2 separate regions of the Homo sapiens genome follow, and region 1 is linked to region 2. Evidence: promoter capture Hi-C in human tissues and cell types (Jung and others, 2019). All regions are on one chromosome and are shown on one strand. Each heading gives the region's core, a stretch centred on a gene start or on the middle of the fragment in contact. The rest is flanking DNA. Distances are from core to core; before and after follow the strand shown.

Region 1 (2,700 bases), core at 47-2,546, 58 kb after region 2:
GAGCCAAAGGCCCGTGACACGGTAGCCTAGGTCCCTCTCATCCTTGCAGCCTGCTGACAGTTGGGAGTCTGGGGCATGTCACAGCCTGCCGCATGTCACAGCTTGCCGAACAGTGGCCACTGAAGCACACCCATCTCATCCATCACTCACTGCCAGGGAGTGTTCCACTTAGAGAGCACGGGTGCTGAGCTTCCCAGCCCTTTCTGATGCTGGAGCCTGCTAGACCAGGGGTCCCCAATCCCAAGCCTGGTCCGAGACCTGTTAGGAACAGGGCATCGCAGCAGGAGGTGAGTGGAGGGGGAAGGAGCATTACCGCCTGAGCTCCGCCTCCTTCAGATCAGCCTCGGCATTAGAGTCTCAAAGGAGTGCGAACCCTTTTGTGAAATGCGCATGCCAGGGATCTAGGTTGCGGGCTCCTTATGAGAGCATCTTAACTCATGCCTGATGATCTGAGGTGGAACAGTTTCATCCCCAACCCCCCCACCCCCACCCCCCTCCGTGGAAAAATTGTCTTCCAGGAAACCAGTCCCTGGTGCCAATAAGTTTGGGAACCCGTTGTGCTGAACATTTCAGGTGGTCTCTCTGACTGGCCTCGTTCTGTGAAAGGAACTCAATGCGATTGAGGGGACTGGCCACCCTGGATGGTTACCAAATAAGCGCTGACAGCCTTAGCTCCCCCACGAAACCCATCACGGCAAGCTCCCCACCTCACCCCCTTTTCCCCCCTCTACCGCCAGCCCAGAGACTGAGCTGTCGGGTTTTGCTCCTCCACCCTGCCCGCCCCCTCCCAGCTGTCCTGGCGTCCGCAGACTGACAGATCTGAGGGTCCTTTGGAGGGAGCCGGGCACATCTCCTCCCGGCCGCCGCCCACCCGCCACAGAGTCTAGAGGCCGAGTGCCGGGCCCGCAGAGGGCAGAGCGCAGCCAGCGCAGCAGGTGGCGGCGTCTACCCGCGCCTAGCTAGCCCCGGACGGCGCGAGGAAAGCGCCCTGCCCAACCCGAGACTGGCGGCCTCCCGGGGCTGGGCTCTGGAGAGAGCGCAGTGGCAGGAGTGGCCGCTGCCGAAGTCCCCCGGGCAGGGGGCAGGGCCAAAGGAGCGCGCGCTCTGGGCGCCGGGACGACACTCCAGCCCCGGGGGACCCGCCGCCCAGCTCCCGAGGGTGCGGCAGCCTCTGGCCACTCAGCCGGGGCCGAGAGGGAGCTGCCGGGCGGGCAGGCGCCGCAGGCACCCGGCGGGCAGGGCGGGGCAGGGCAAGACGGCCGCCTCCGCAAGTGCCACCCGGCCCACCCGGTTCTCTCCCTTCTGCCTGGGACGTCAGCGGACGGGGCGCTCGCGGGCCGGGGCTGTATGGGGCTCCCGCGCGGGTCGTTCTTCTGGCTGCTGCTCCTGCTCACGGCTGCCTGCTCGGGGCTCCTCTTTGCCCTGTACTTCTCGGCGGTGCAGCGGTACCCGGGGCCAGCGGCCGGAGCCAGGTAGGGGCTGCCGAGCGCAGAGCGGGAGGGCGCAGGGGCGACCAGGGCGCGGGGAGGGTCCCCAGCCCAGGGCTCCCCGGCGGCCCGCAGCCCTCAGCCCAACCTCCGCGTGGACCCCTCTGGGGCAGCTCTCAGCGAGGACTCGGCCGCGGCCCTTTGTCGCCAGAACCCTCTCCCAGCCTTGACCTCGCGCTGCCCGGACCCCGCGGCCTTTGCCTGGGTCCAAGGAAGACCTCGCCCCTGTGCACTGGCGACCCGCCCCGGTGCCCCTTGTTGGTGAAGTCCTCCCCGGCCTGATAAGTACACTTTCTATTGTCGAAATCTGGCTGGGTCCCCGAAGCAGATAAAAACTTCCTTTTTTGTCGGGAACTCTCCCTCGGTAACGTCAGATTCTGCTTTTTGGGCAGGGGCCCAAGTCTCCGGTTTCCAACTTCGCGGGGACCCTCCGTCGGGCCGCGGCCAGTCGCCTTTCCCGCCCGCTGCGGTCTCTGTCCGCCCCGCGCCCGCTCCCTTCTCCCCGGCTTCCGCTCGCCGTGTCTGGATAAGCCCAGTGCGGGCGCGATCCGCGAAGAGGCGGGCGCCCGAGGGAAAGAGGGGTGACTCCTGGCTCCATCCGCGTTCTCCTCCCCGCGCCGCGTCCTGCGCTCCACTCCCTCCTCCTCCCTAGGCACTTTCCTGGGTGTCCCACGAGGAGAACCTGGGAGCCGGCCTCTAGCAGGTGGTGGTTCCGGTGACTGAAGAAGCCGCAAAACGATTTCGCTTAGCTTAAGAAAGGCGGACCAAGCCGTGCGAAGTCTGGGTTTGGGAGGAGGGAAGGGCCCGGCAGCCTCAGGGAGAGGCCTCCAGCCCCAGCCTTTCCCTTCCTGGAGCTTTTCCATCTGCGCACCCCCTACCAACCTTGCTGGGGGGCTAACGGGATGAAAACAAAATAAGTATCTGGTCTCCACAGATGCTGTCAAAGGATACACCAAAAGTTGCAGAACAATGTGAAACAGCTTGCCAGTGATCAGGAGTCCAGCACTCTTAGAACAAAGGGTGCTTGCCCCGCCACGGTGACTTAACGCCTGTAGTCCCAGCACTCTGGGAGGCGGAGGTGGGAGGATAGCTTGAGGCCAGGAATTCGAGGCTGTGAGCTGTGATTGCACTACTGCATTCCAGCCTGGTTGACAGAGAGAGACCCTGTCTCAAAAGAAAAGGAATCCTTGTCACTTTTATGTAAAGATGTTTA
Region 2 (2,700 bases), core at 108-2,607:
AAACTGTACGTTAGGAGAAATGCCCACCGCCAGGTGTGAACAGTGAGCCCAGGCTCCAAAACCTCTCCCACAGTTCAACACCCTGGACAATATTTTTATAAAATTACTAACTCACAGTACTTTATGGAGGGCTGCTTCTCTGAATTTTTAAAGTTTTCTACAAATGGTCTTGATGTTTTTCCTCTGAGGTGTACTTTTTTTTCCCAAGAATTATGTGGGTTTTGTTTTGCATTGCTTTGATCAAGGTAGAGTTAATGATTTCTCGTAGGTGCTACTAAGCAGTGGATACGAATGCAATCGGCCAGGCACGGTGGCTCACACCTGTAATCCTAGCACTTTGGGAGGCCGAGGCAGGTGGATCATGAGGTCAGAAGATCGAGACCATCCTGGCCAGCATGGTGAAACCCCGTCTCCACTAAAAATACAAAAATTAGCCGGGTGTGGTGTTGGGTGCCTGTAGTCCCAGCTACTCAGGAGGCTGAGGCAGGAGAATCACTTGAGCCCGGGAGGCGGAGGTTGCAGTGAGCCAAGATTGCGCCACTGCACTCCAGGCTGGCAACGAGTGAGAATGTCTCAAAAAAAAAAAAGAAAGAAAAATGCAATCATGGCTGGGCATGGTGGCCGATGCCTGTAATCCCAGCACTTTGGGAGGCTGAGGTGGGAGGATCACTTAAGTCCAGGAGTTTGAGACCAGCCTGGGCAACATACTGAGACCCATCTCTATTTCTTAAAAAAAGAATGCAATCTCTAGGTCAGTTGGATCTGGACCCCAAGCCAGTGGCTCACCATGTGCTCTTGGGCTGGCAGCTTGTTCTTGGAGGCCATTTCCTCCTCTGTCAAATGGAGGTGATGACAGTACCCAGCCCCTAGAGTGGCTGTGAGGGTTCCATGAGTGCCTGTGAAGACTCCCCACTGCCCAGCTCAGAGTGAGCCCTCATACGTGCTGGTCATTGTTGTAATGGTCATGATTTCAGAAGAGAAACAGAGAAGGTTGAGCTAAAGTGTTGAACATGTGTGTTGGGTGCCTACCACAAACAAAGCCCTGTGCATGGTGGCCTCAAGGTGTCTTCATGATAATCCCAAAAGGAAGATAACTGCTTTTTTCCATTTATATGGCGGCAGATGGGTTAAGTAACCTGACCAAGATGAGACTGCATATAATGTGGTTATATTTCTCATAAAGCTTGACTTTCAGATATTGGCTTCAAAGACAAAAAAGGAAGGTAAACATGTTTGAACACAAGGAGTTTCCCTTCCTTTAAGCCACGCCAGCTTATAAGCCTTCATACAGCAGTGAAGGCGGTTCCTCCCTTCCCAGGCAGAGACTGATAAACTCAGCACTTGCCGGAGTGGCTCATTGTTAAGACAAAGGGTGTGCACTTCCTGGCCAGGAAACCTGAGCGGTGAGACTCCCAGCTGCCTACATCAAGGCCCCAGGACATGCAGAACCTTCCTCTAGAACCCGACCCACCACCATGAGGTCCTGCCTGTGGAGATGCAGGCACCTGAGCCAAGGCGTCCAGTGGTCCTTGCTTCTGGCTGTCCTGGTCTTCTTTCTCTTCGCCTTGCCCTCTTTTATTAAGGAGCCTCAAACAAAGCCTTCCAGGTAAGATTCTTGTCCTTTCCACTCCTCATATTTCATTCATTTGAGGAAACAGAAAAATGATAGCCCAGGGAGGACTGGGGAAGTCTGAGCCACCTGTGTGTCCACATGGGAGTGTCAGGGGTCAGGAGTGTTCTCAAGAAGCACTGGGAAGAAAGACTAATGGGAAGACTTGCAGGGAACAGAAAGGGTGGCAGTGGGCAACCAAGACGCATGGGATGGACATGTCCAGATACTGTGGGACACGTACAGGAGTTTGAGAACTGATGGGTTAGGTCTGCAGAGTGCAGACAGAAGACATGACTGCTTTCCCCTCTGGGACTGTGAGTAATGGCAGCAGCACTGGGTTAGTTCTTACATGCCATTCTCTACGTCCTGAAGCGAAAGAGCCATGCTGTGTGTTCCACTTGTTTCAGACCCGGACTCACCCTAAGTTTGTCAGTTAAAATGGAGAGCCTCCCTCTTAGGGATGCAGTTTCAATTGTGGACGCCAAGTTAATCCTTCAAAAATACCTTCTAGACCATTTTTCTTAGAAAATACACACATCTCCAGCAGTGAGAGGCCCTCTTTTTTTTTTTTTTTTTTTTGAGACGGAGTCTCACTCTGCTGCCGGAGTGCTGGAGTGCAGTGGCATGATCTCAGCTCACTGCAACCTCCACCTCCCAGGTTCAAGCCTCAGCTTCCTGAGTAGCTGGGACTACAGGCGCATGCCACCAGGCCTGGCTAAGTTTTTGTATTTTTAGTAGAGACAGGTTTTCACCATGTTGGCCAGGCTGGTCTTGAACTCCCGACCTCAAGTGATCTACCCACCTCGGCCTCCCAAAGCGCTGGGATGACAGGCGTGAGCCACTGCGCCCAGCCAATAATTTCATTTCACTGTTCCTAAACGTTGAAAGTAATGCAGGTTCTCATAGAGTTAAAAAAAATACAGAAAGGTGAAGCAGGAAGTGAGGGTCTCCCTATTATACCTCCACCTCTATCCACTCTTCAAGGTGACCACTCTTGACACTTGAGGGTACACGGAATTCTATTATTATGTAGCTAACACTGCTATAGTATTTACTATGAGCTAGCCCCTATTCTAAGTGCTTGATAT

What was found. Contacts are between HindIII fragments. The study calls those that stand out against the background at their distance.
Region 1: a contact is called between the fragment with the promoter of ST6GALNAC2 here and the fragment with the promoter of ST6GALNAC1 in region 2, in 1 of the 25 tissues and cell types used here (adrenal gland).

Annotation. Positions count from the first base shown.
Region 1 is chr17:76,584,456-76,587,155 of GRCh38, reverse strand. ST6GALNAC2 (ST6 N-acetylgalactosaminide alpha-2,6-sialyltransferase 2) reads left to right here and starts at 1,296. Exons shown (of 9, transcript NM_006456.3): 1 at 1,296-1,472. The coding sequence starts at 1,348. RefSeq lists enhancers at 1-309, 310-991 and silencers at 860-1,149, 1,200-1,539. The HindIII fragment of the contact is 21,800 bases long and covers 1-2,700 here.
Region 2 is chr17:76,642,414-76,645,113 of GRCh38, reverse strand. ST6GALNAC1 (ST6 N-acetylgalactosaminide alpha-2,6-sialyltransferase 1) reads left to right here and starts at 1,357. Exons shown (of 9, transcript NM_018414.5): 1 at 1,357-1,606. The coding sequence starts at 1,476. The HindIII fragment of the contact is 5,915 bases long and covers 1-2,700 here.